Linked DNA regions of Homo sapiens: regions 2, 3 and 4 are each linked to region 1. The links are contacts of gene promoters, found by promoter capture Hi-C in blood cells and fetal thymus (Javierre and others, 2016). All regions are on one chromosome and are shown on one strand. Each heading gives the region's core, a stretch centred on a gene start or on the middle of the fragment in contact. The rest is flanking DNA. Distances are from core to core; before and after follow the strand shown.

Region 1 (2,780 bases), core at 109-2,608:
AAAATGGGAACGTGGGGGTATAATACTCGAATACCCTCCCCTACAACTTCTGAATCGGTCTGTTACCTAGTTATCCCAGTAGCTTGTGCGTGGATATTGATGTTTAGGCCTTTCCTCCAGCTGCCTGTGCTTGGGGTTAATCTCGTAATTGACGTCAGTGCTTTGTTCCTTCTACTTTGCTGTTCCTTCCACTCTTTGAGGATGGATCATGGAGTACAGGAGTTTTGGGAGTAACCTTATTGCCTTTTCGTTTACAAACAGTATTATTTTCAGGAAGTGGAAGTACGAATCTGAAATGTTTGTATATGGAGTTCAAGGCGAAGAGTTCGATTTAGGGTTCTCGTAGTTTTGTCAGTTGTAATTCAGAATTATGCGGTTTCTTCCCTGCTGGCCACATGGAAATTTTATACTAAGGCCAGTCACTTTTCCATTGACCAGTGTTTTTCTTGATGGAATCTAAGCTATAGGTGTCTGTGAATAGACTGTAAATGTAACATAAAATGTGTGCTGTTTTTCGGGCTCAGATATGAAAAGCGCAAAGCTTCGTTTCTGTATTGATTCTGCACTTCATAAAGTGCTTTTTAAAACTTAACTGGTCTTTAACTTATCAAAATTGAAATATTTATGAGAACTTTCTTAATTTGGGATTTGATAAAGAGCCTTTGTGGTCTGTGAGTCTGCCTAGAATCATCTTTGGTCATACGTGCATAAAGAAGTGTTGGCAAGTGGCCACTTGGTTTTCAACAAAGCTGGCTTCTTTAAATTTCTCAGATTCGTTTTCCTTATTATCACTGCATCTTTCAGCTCCTAAATATAAGAAAAATTCCCAGTAAGTTATTTTAAGTTATCTTTCAGAGTTAACTTACTAAAAACCTGGAAGCAGTCAAATTTTTCTTTTTTTATTACCAGCAGTTTCATTCAATTTGCGGTGGTTTGCAGGCTGGTACTTTGATTTTTGTTAACTCTCTAGAAACAGTAGGCAAATTTTACTTTAAATAAAATTTTGCTTCAAGTGGGGACAAGATGGGGTGTCTGAAAAAAGAGCCCAGCTGTGTTAATTGGAACATGATCTACAGTTTGGGAGTGTAAGGTGAAGCTGTGTAATTAAGAATTCTTAAAGATTGAATATTTTTGTTCTGAGTCACTTTCTACTTGTCAGATTCTCACATTCAGGTTGATACATTCTCTTCTGTGTACTCTTGAGTTATTGTACCCTTTTTGTAGCAATATATTCTGCAGCCGGGCCTGGTGGTTCACGCCTGTAATCCTAGCACTTTAGCACTTTGAGAGGCCGAGGTGGGCGGATCACCTGAGGTCAGGAGTTCTAGACCATCCTGGCCAACATAATGAAACCCCGTCTCTACTAAAAATACAAGAATTAGCCAGGTGTGGTGGTGCACACCTGTAGTTCTAGCTACTTGAGAGGCTGAGGCATGAGAACCAAATTAGCCAGACATGGTGGTACATGCCTGTAGTCCCAGCTACTCCAGAGGCTGAGGCACGAGAATCGCTTGAGAATCGCTTGAACTGGGAGGCGAAGGTTGCAGTAAGCCGAGATCACACCACTGGAATGCAGTGGCTCCATCTCTGCTCACTGCAACCTCTGCCTCCTGGGTTCAAGCGATTCTCCTGCCTCAGCCTCCTGAGTAGTTGGGATTGCAGGTACACACTACCATTCCCAGTTAATGTTTTTTGTATTTTTAGTAGAGACGGGGTTTCAGCAGGTTGGTCAGACTGGTCTCGAACTCCTGACCTCGTGATCCACACGCCTCGGCCTCCCCAAAGTGTTGGGATTACAGGCATGAGCACTGCGCCCGGCCAACCTAGGCGATGTCTCAAACAAGCAGAAGCCTACTATATGTTTTGCACTGTAATTTTCTTTTTTTCCCTGTCTCTTGCAGATATTGAGGGATGCATAATAATTTTCTTACAGATCTGTTACAGGGTCTTTGAGGAAGTACTATATTTATTCCTCTTTTTATCTTCCTCAGTATTTTACACAATTACTAGATTGAATTTGAATGTGATAATATTTTGAACTTGAAATTGTTGTTCTATCAACTTATCTAAGATTTCACAAAAAGGTAATGTAAAGAAAGCTGTATGAGCAAAGGATCAGTATTTGAAAGGGAAAAACCTGTCAGTTTCAGAAGATGAGACAGAAGATGAAGCTTTCTAAAAGTTATATATTTTGCCTTTTTTGAGAAGGTAAGGTAAATGCCGTAGTTTTATGTGTACCTGAGAGGAACAAATAAAACAGGTATTTCTTCCTTTGTGGCCATCCACTGGTTTAGAATGGAGTTCAAAATCTATGAGGACTTTTCTTTGTGGTATTTTTAATAAAATCAAAGAGGTATTCTTAAGTATTGAGAGCACACCTGGACAATGACCCAGAAGTACAGCATGTACTATAAAAAATTGATGACTTAGATTTTTTTTTACTTTAGCTTTATTCTACAGATATCTCACTATGAAGACTTTTCTATATGATATAAAGGTTCCCAGCTCTCCTGCATCCTTATTATGTTTTACCCATTCCCTTATTCATTTCCTCTGATAAGTTGGAACAATTCTATTTGATTTCTGGGAGGGTGTTAGCTAGTCTCAGTTATTGTGAAAGAAGGTGTAGTGACTAAAGACTGCCTAAAGCTAACCTGACCTGTTACCTTGCTGCTTTTTCCTTTGGTTTAAGAAAAGCGCTCCTACTGGCCAGGCGCAGTGGCTTATGCCTGTAATCCCAGCACTTTGGGAGGCTGAGGCTGGCGGATCACGAGGTCAGG
Region 2 (2,780 bases), core at 137-2,636, 1.9 Mb before region 1:
CAGAGGTTGCAGTGAGCCAAGATCGCGCCACTGCACTCCAGCCTGGGCAACAGAGCGAGACTCCATCTCAAAAAAAAATAAAAATAAAAATTACATAAACCGGGAGCAGTGGCTCACATCTGTAATCCCAGCACTTTGGGAAACAGGTGGGAGGATCACTTAAGCCCAGGAGTTCAAGGCTGCAGGGAGCCATGATGGGCCACTGCACTCCCGCCTGGGCAACAGAGCAAGCCCTCATCCCTTAAAAAAACAAAAACAAAACAGTAAAGATTCCAAAAGATGATGCTCGTAAAGCACTGAGCACAGCATCTGGTACACAGTGAGCGCTTTCATTCATGGTAATTGTGTTACTATGACTCACCCTTCTCCACAACTCTCTGCTGTCCTGCCTCCATCCAGGACACCCCAGGGAAAAGAAAGACCTGCCTATTCCTGTTAAGGTCTAAATGACAAGCGAGACCGAGGGTCTGGACTTTAACAGGACTATGAGGAGTGGGGTGAAGGAGCATGAAAGTAAGGCCTCCACTCTCCACCCTCGCCATGCCTCTAGAGTGGCTGCCTTCCCTACCGGCAAGTTGGGGGTTACCGGGAGTCTCCCGTGTTTCTCGTCTGTTTTTCATGCAGGGAGCTGAGCAAGACTGGCCTCCTTAAGACAGTGGTCCAGCAGCGTGGACTCCAGACTGGGCTTTGGCGTCAGAGAGACAGGCTTCTGCCACGTATCAGAAGCGCAAACTTAGGCGGGGCCTGAGCATCTTCATCTGTGAAATGGAGACACTAAACGGAACCGATCTGACAGGGTTTGTGGGAGCATTAAATGGGATAATGATGTAAATAAAGCACGATGCACAGTTCCTGGCTCCTAATACGGCCACAACAATGTCGGTATTTGATATAATGTTATTAATAATAAATTGCTTATCACCAGAGGGTATGCCTCAGCAGCGCTTACCGCACTGTCCCTCCTGGCTACCAGCCACGGGCTGAGGGCGGCCTGAACGCGGCCCAACCACCCCCGGGCTCCCGTCCACCGGCCCTCAGCCCACCGGCCCCCTTTCGCGGGCCACCAGCGGGCGGTGCGCGGGGAGAGAAGTCGGGGAGACGCGCCCGGGGAGACGCCAAGAAGGGGCGAGTCGCGCACCGCCGGCCTTCGCGCAGGTCCAGAGCGTCGCCCGGGTGGACCTCAGCTCGCCCCATCATCTCATGCACCGCCCCCGGCCCACACTCACCCTCCACGCCGCGGACGGGAAGTCCCAGCACCCACAGCAATACTTGCCACCAGCCGAGGAGCCGCATGACGCGGGGCGGTCGTCGACCGGCAGCCGGGACCATTGCCCAGGCCGAGAGGCAATCGGCGCACGGCTACGCGAGTCGTGCTGCCAGCCGGAGGAAGGCTGGGGGAGGAGAGCCTGGGAGCGCGGGCGCGGCCCCGCGCCGCCATCTTAACACCTGGCAGCTGTGGCGGGCGCCATCTTGGAGTCGGGCGGACGGCCTCTAGCCGCTGGCCGTCGGCGCTGGACTGGAGACCTCTTTAGGAGCTAAGCGCCAGACGTTGCAGGTCGTTTTGAACTCTGCTGACCCCAGAGTGCAGAGCATGGCTCTGGCAGAGGCCCATGGCCTCCTTTCTTCCCTCGGAAGTCAGAGCTTGGCTACTTGAAGCACTGCGCCCGCCTAAGGAGGGTTTTCCACGCTTCATTCCCAGAGCCAGAAAGGCCCAGGAGCCTTCCTGTTCTAGTGTCCCATCGAGGTGCAGAAACTTTGGAGGCTGCAAATCTTCTAATCGCTTGCCTAACCTGTGCTCCCCTACCTAGGGTTGCCACATAGAATACCTGATACCCAGTTATATTTGAATTTCACATAATGAATATTTTTTACTATAACCCTTATAGTATAAGGGATATACCTTAAAACTGAGCATCCTGTAACTTCGTGACATCTGGCAACCCTAACCCTACCTATCCACTCAGGGCAGGAGAGGTTGGTTTTAACTGATTTACCTTGCAGGGCAATCTCTTTTTAATCATGGTTGGGGCCGTGAGCATCATTGGCTCTGGCTCATGGTGGAGGTGGAGCCACCTCGAGCATAAAGTAGATAGGAAAGGGCTTAGAATGAAGAAAGCATAGATGGGGAGATGAGGAACAGGGCTCTGCATTCCCAAGCAAACGCACAGAGCGGGAGTCTTAAGAGAAAATTCTTGGAATAGAGAGGATGACACCACTAATTGGGGTATTTTGCCGGGGGGCCTGCTAAAATGGAATAAGGCAAGCTTTAAGCAGCCACCAGTCAGTGCTAAATCAGTGCAGAGTGCAGCTTTTCAAACTTATGAGGTTGAAAAAATAGAAACTGATTTAAAATACATCAGTCTATTGGTTAACATAGCAATGGTAAGGGGAACCTGTGCTTTTTGGCCGCTTGGTGAATCCCAACTTCAGCACATGTGATAGTTCACAGTCAGCAGGTTATGTAACTTAAAGTTAAGTTTCTTCAGCTGTAAAGTGGAAATGACGTTATATAGAGTCTTATAGATGAAATGAGATGTAAAGTGATGAGCACAGTGTCCTGGGGCACAGGAAGCATTTCAAAGTGGTAGGCATTATTAATTGAATAATACAATTCTGATGGTGTGGCCATAGTCCCCTTATCTCTATGCCCATCAAAAAGACACTGTTAGGCCAGAAAGATGCATCATTAATCTGTCCCTGTGGATGATTCTTTTATTCTAAATACGTTGGTATGGTTTTGCTGTTGTAGATCCTCAAGTGCCATCTTGTGGGTCCAGAAG
Region 3 (2,780 bases), core at 82-2,581, 1.8 Mb before region 1:
GTAGTGTAAGGGATCTAACAATTAGGAGAGCAACAGAGGAAGACAATCAATTCAGAGAATCAATTTAAAACAGATGTAGTAGTCTGGACAATAAATAATTAGGGCCTCAATTAAGTCAGGGACAACCAGAATGGGCAAAGGATGTAGAATCTAACAGGCTGTGGGTAGTGAGAGAGAAGAATGAGTCAAATAAATATCACTTTCAGATTTCTGGTCTGGACAGCCTTCCGGAGATTTAAAACACCGTCACAGGAATTTTCTGTAGTTAAAGAAATATTTTTTATCTTCATCCAGGTGATGATTACACGGTTTATATATTTGCTAAATTTCATCAAGCTTTACCCTTACGTTTTGTCCATTTCCCTGATTGTTAATTGTACCTCAACAAAGAACTGTTAGCACTAACAACAAAAGCCTTCATTGTTCCTAGACATAAAATATCTTTCAGTCATTGCTAAATACATAGCAAATAGTCATTTTTAACATAAAAATCTCAAGGTTCCTAACAATCTATCAACAATCTAAAGTTGTGATGAGATCTAATGAGTTCTAATAAGAGCTCATAGTCCACAACTTCAAAAGGACAGAAAAGCAGGTAACAAAGTTACCTGCTTAAATACGAAATCTATTTGCGAAGTAAATGCCCACGCAACAAGTATTTATTGTAGCCCAGTAAAAGCCTAGTCGTGTATAGTGCTGTCGATGCGGTAAAAATGTCTGCCCACACGCTCCTTTCAAGTAACTTGGGAAAAGATCATACGCGCACAAAGAACTAAAATACAGAATGACAGGAGTCGAGGAAATGTTGGAAACGCGAAGCAATAAGCAATCCAACTGGGATCACTTCTGACTGAAGTAATCAGGGCAGGCTCCCTTGAAGTGGCGGGATGTGGTGCCCAATCACTAACGTCCTGGAGGGTTGTTCCCGCTCCAGGGGCTCGAACCCTCTGATGGTAGTGCAGGGGAAGCCGTCGCTGGCCCAAACACAACCATTCCCTCAGCCGAGGTCCCCCAGCCCTTCCAATGCTCGCGGGGCAGCGCTGACCGCACGTGGGGCCGCGCCAGGCCTGGCCCGGCGGCCACCTCAACTCCCGCCTCTTCTCACGACCCCAAGAAGCCGCTCGCCCGCTAGCCCGCTCGGCGCTCTGCCTCACCGTGACTCCCGACCCATGCTGCCGACCGCGGGAATACTGGTGCCCTTGAGTACCACGCACAGGCGAACCGGACAAACAAGGAGGCTGAGCTGCCCTCAACGCCCGGCAAAGACCAGCGCTAAACACTAGCAGCACCTACAGCTGTGGCGGCCATCCCAGCGCGGCCAACGAAAACAGGACGTGCTGGCGCCGGCAGCCGAAGGAAGAGAAAAGCCGACCGGAAGCTGCCGCTCTTCCACAGCGCCCCACCTCGACTGGAGGACGCACAGCGCCGGCCCCATCGAAAGGTGATGCCTTCGCCCCGCCCAGTCTTCCCGGCGCCCGCACCACGCCCGGCTGATTAGTGCGATGGAGCGCAGCGCGTCAGCCTCGCCGGCCCGTGAGGGTGTTTCGCGCCAGAGCCAAAGAGGCGTCCTGGGCAGGCTGATGTCTGCCTTAATTTGCGCTAAATAATGCGGCAACTTTCTCCGTACACGCTCTTTATTCATGTATACATTCACTCATTTATTTATGTTGTCATATGCCAGGCTTGTGCTAGATCCTGGGGAGCTCACAGTCTATCCGGGAAACAGATGACTAAAGCCAGCACAGTGGCTCACGCCTGAAATCCCAGCACTTTGGGAGGCTGAGGCGGGAGGATCTATTGAGCCCAGGAATTCAAGACCTGGGCAACGTAGCCCTCGTCTCTGCAAAGAAAATAGTAATAATAATAGACTTGACTAAAAACACAAGCAGAAGTAATACAGCAAGGAGAGTCCACCATTGGAGACGGATTCAGAAAACACGTTTCCCTTGGAAGTGAACTCTGAGGTGAGATTTGAAGACCCGGTAGGTGTTAACCTAGTAGAGAACAAAGAGCTAAAAATACTTTGGCAAAAGATTAGTTCTCAACATTGCTTGCACTGGGAAGCTTAAAAATAAAACAAAAAAACAAAAAAAGGGCCAGCCATGGTGGCTCATGCCTATAATCCCAGCACTTTGGGAGGCCGAGGCAGGAGGATGGCTTGAGCCCAGGAATTCAAGACCTACCTGGGCAACATAGCGAGACCCTCTACAAAAAATAAGCAAAATAATTAGCCAGGTGTGCTGGCACGCCTGTGGTTCTAGCTACTTGGGAGGCTGAGGTGAGAGGATCATTTGAGCCAGGGAGGCTGAGGCAAGAAGATTACTTGAGCCCAGGAGTTTGAGGCTGCAGTGAGCTATGATGACTCCAGCCTGGGTAGCACAGAGAAATCTCATCTCTAAAATATTAGTAAATAAAATAGAAGCCTGGGTTCCACCCCTATGTTCTGATTTAATTGGCCTGGAGTGCTTCTTGTGCACTGGGAATTTTTAAGCTTCCCAGGTAATTCTGAAGTACAGTCAAGATTGAGAACATTATTCGAGAGTTTGGGCACCAAAAAAATGTATATGTATTGTCTCATGCAACACACACAGAAATGTTGAATTTTTTTTGTTTTTTTTTTTTGAGACGGAGTTTCGCTTTTGTTGCCCAGGCTGGAGTGCAATGGTGAGAGCTCAGCTCACCACAACCTCCACCTCCTGGGTTCAAGCGATTCTCCTGCCTCAGCCTCCCAAGTAGCTGGGATTACAGGCATGCACCACCACCCCAGCTTATTTTGTATT
Region 4 (2,780 bases), core at 90-2,589, 1.6 Mb before region 1:
GAGGGCTGGGGACTGCGGATCCGTCCCTGAAGCGGGACGCGAACCGGCAGAGTTGGGAGAAGGTAAACAAGGGCCACGCCCCCTGCCGTCGCCCCGCGGGCGCGCACCCGCCGCTCCGGCCGCCGCCGGTACATTTCCACTCTCCCAGCGCCTCTCCCCAGCTGGACTACCGCGCGGCCCCGGAGGTGGAGGCTGCCCCCGACCCCAGTCCTCACCCCTGGCGCCGAGGCTCCGCACCCTCCACACTCACCTGGAAAGGGTGTCCCCCGCCCCTCCAAAAAAACTGTCTAATTTGTGCAGAGCCTCCAACCCCAGGAGCCGAGCATGCTGCCCCCGCGTGCAGCGCCCGCGTGCACCGGGCCGGGAGAGGGGGCGACAGGGCGGAGGCGGTGGCCCCCGGAAGGTGTCTGGGACCGGACCGGCTGCACGTGAGCCCAGCGCGAGGTCATGTGCACCGGCTCAGCCCGGTTCGGCGCCCGGACGTGCTGCGTATCAACAAAATGAAACTCGGGGAGACAGGAGGGCAGATAGCTCCAGGTTCTCGGAGCCCCCGCCCGGGCCGCTCGACCTCCCCACCGTACCCATCTCCCGCCGCAGCCCCTACGCCCGGCCGGAGCCCGCGGGGAAGTTGCAGCCCTGGCGCGCCCCCGCCCGCCCGCGCCCCCTCGCCGGCCCGGGGGCGCTTTGCCGCAGTCATTAATAAAGAAGGTCGCCAAGCTCACCCTTCCAAAAGTTGTTGTTGCATGCGCCCCTCTCAGCCTCCCCGCACTGTACTCTTTAAAACACGACTGACCAACATGCGCAATCTCTCTCCCCTGTGCTGTGCATCCCCCCCCTCTCCGCGCTGGCTTCCTAGAACAGGCAGCCAGCAGGAGAGAGAGGGAGCGAGCGAGCAAGAGAGAGCGAGGGAGCGAAGAGCGCTGGCAGATCTGTTGCAAAAACGCCAAATAACGTCGTGGAGATGCGCAGGGCCCATCCGCCGGGGGCTGGATCTTACCTTGCTCCGCGGTGCCCCCCTGACGGGCGCTGCCCTCGGCTACGCGCCGCTGCAGGGACCGGCGCGGGAAGGATGCTCCCGAAGCCGGGAGCTCCTGGGGCCGGCGCGGGAGGGCGGGGGGCGCGCATCCATCCGGGGTCGCGGCGAGGGAGGCGGCCGGGCCCGCGGCGTCCCAGGCCCCACGCCCCCCGCCGGGGACGGTCGGCCCGCAGGACCTAAGCCGGTGCCGCTAGGAGTGGGCGCAAAGTAACTCCATGGACGCTACTCACCCCCCCCAAAAAATAGCCTCCAACTGCGATGGCCGCGGTCGGCACCATTCACCAACCCCCTGTGTATGTTTCTGTTTCTTTTTAAACCAAGACTTCCTTGTGATCTCTTTAGAAAAAAAAAATGTGTTGGGGTGGGGGTGGGGTGGGGGCGGGCAGGAGGAGCGAGGGAGGGGGAGTAGCCACTTTTTTCTTATTCACTCGGATCTCCGCTCCCGACACCCCCGTCGCCGCCCCCCCAACCCCCCGCCCAGTTGTTTGGCTCCGGCGGGGAGTCCAGGTAGCGTTGCGGGCCCCGTGGGGGAAGGGTGCCCTCCCTCGCAGCCCCACCACCACGCCTGCTGGCACCCTGGGCCCGGACTCCCCATGGACTCTGGGGCGCCCCTAGCCCGCCCTGTCCCCAGGGCCGGGCCCGAGCGGCGGCTGCGCCCGTGCAAGTCCCATCAGGTCTGCTCACACTTCACACACTCACACACATACCCCGCCCCTCCACTCTTTCACTCACACTTTCTGCTCACACCCCGCCCCCTACGCGCCCCAGACCCGGGCGGCGCCCCCCGCAACCTTAAAAAAAAAAAAAAGCGAGCTTATACTTAAAAAAATCTTTTGGCGCCATATTAATGACGTACTTAAAATTTGCCATTTCTCCCTGCGTCAAAAAGACGTTTCTTTGCAAATAACAGCCTGGAGGCGACACTCGCGGAGGGAACGAGGTTTGCACTGAGCACCCCGCCCCCCGGGGCTCCAGCGCTGGAAGACCCTCGCCCTAGGCCCTGCTTCTGAATCGCTGGTTTTAAAATGCGAATCGAATAAATTGCGTGGCGTTTTGCAGCACCAGAAGTGAGCAGAAAGTGCTGGCAGGAGGGGAGTGGAGGGGCGAACGCGAGTCTTGGGGAGGGGGCGCGGCCCTCCTCCCCGCACCCACTCCAAATGGAAAACTAACATTCCGGGCGGGGGAACTTGAAATTGTAGGCGACCTCAAGAAAAGAGGGGCGGTCCGTAGAGAGGGTCCCCATTGGGCTCGTCGCCCCCTCCCCCCTCCCGGGTGCCTCCTGGCGCCTAGCGCTGCCCCGCATTTCCGGGGGGTGGAGAAGGCAGTGATGAGCGGGTGGGTGGGTGGTTGCACATCCTGGCCCCAGCAGGATTTTGCCCCGGGGCGACCCCTTCCTCCTTGCTCTTCCTTCCCATTACCCCGAAAGGGTTAAAAACCGAGGGGTAACTTCCAAAGGCTGGCACATGGCGAGGAAGCGGGGCGCCCCTCTCCCCACCCTTCGCCTCCTCGCCCCTCCTCCTCCGGCTCCACTTCCCGACTTGACCTTGTGGTGCACAAACAGTACGCTCGGATCCTCGCAGTTTCTGGAAGAAGAGCCTGCGCTCGCCAGGCGGGCGGGCTGTCGGGCTGCTAGCCGGCGGTGGCGGGGCCTTGGGTCTGTTCCCGGAGCCGCGGGCCACACCCACCCAACCCGCTGCGCCCGCCGAGCTCACCTTCTCTCGAGGAAGGAGAAGGACTGGCCTCC

What was found. Contacts are between HindIII fragments. The CHiCAGO score rates a contact against its expected background, and 5 or more counts as called.
Region 2: a contact is called between the fragment with the promoter of TXNDC15 here and a fragment that was not itself captured in region 1, in 3 of 17 cell types (non-activated CD4 T cells, naive CD8 T cells and fetal thymus). The highest score is 6.9, in non-activated CD4 T cells.
Region 3: the fragment with the promoter of DDX46 here is called in contact with a fragment that was not itself captured in region 1 in 5 of 17 cell types (total CD8 T cells, fetal thymus, naive CD4 T cells and 2 more); the score reaches 8.7 in total CD8 T cells.
Region 4: a contact is called between the fragment with the promoter of JADE2 here and a fragment that was not itself captured in region 1, in 1 of 17 cell types (monocytes). The highest score is 5.5, in monocytes.

Annotation. Positions count from the first base shown.
Region 1 is chr5:132,959,982-132,962,761 of GRCh38, reverse strand. The region is part of intron 1 of AFF4 (ALF transcription elongation factor 4); the gene reads left to right. Among named protein-coding and RNA genes, the nearest start is that of AFF4, 2.3 kb to the left of the region's middle. RefSeq lists an enhancer at 1,600-2,101. The HindIII fragment of the contact is 1,630 bases long and covers 544-2,173 here.
Region 2 is chr5:134,872,977-134,875,756 of GRCh38, reverse strand. TXNDC15 (thioredoxin domain containing 15) reads right to left here and starts at 1,386. Exons shown (of 5, transcript NM_024715.4): 1 at 1,227-1,386. The coding sequence starts at 1,329. It overlaps LOC124901071 (a long non-coding RNA gene), which reads left to right and starts at 359. Exons shown (of 2, transcript XR_007058943.1): 1 at 359-513; 2 at 625-926. RefSeq lists enhancers at 751-820, 714-1,419, 1,351-1,640, 1,661-1,710 and a silencer at 1,001-1,110. The HindIII fragment of the contact is 3,704 bases long and covers 1-2,266 here.
Region 3 is chr5:134,757,330-134,760,109 of GRCh38, reverse strand. DDX46 (DEAD-box helicase 46) reads right to left here and starts at 1,331. Exons shown (of 23, transcript NM_001300860.2): 1 at 1,155-1,331. The coding sequence starts at 1,171. RefSeq lists an enhancer at 1,067-1,556. The HindIII fragment of the contact is 1,728 bases long and covers 339-2,066 here.
Region 4 is chr5:134,524,229-134,527,008 of GRCh38, reverse strand. It overlaps JADE2 (jade family PHD finger 2), which reads right to left and starts at 1,339. Exons shown (of 12, transcript NM_001388185.1): 1 at 998-1,339. LOC124901070 (a long non-coding RNA gene) reads left to right here and starts at 1,407. Exons shown (of 3, transcript XR_007058942.1): 1 at 1,407-1,543; 2 at 1,926-2,103. RefSeq lists silencers at 1-869, 880-1,139, 1,170-1,249, 1,380-1,599, 1,620-1,669 and 1 more. The HindIII fragment of the contact is 6,085 bases long and covers 1-2,780 here.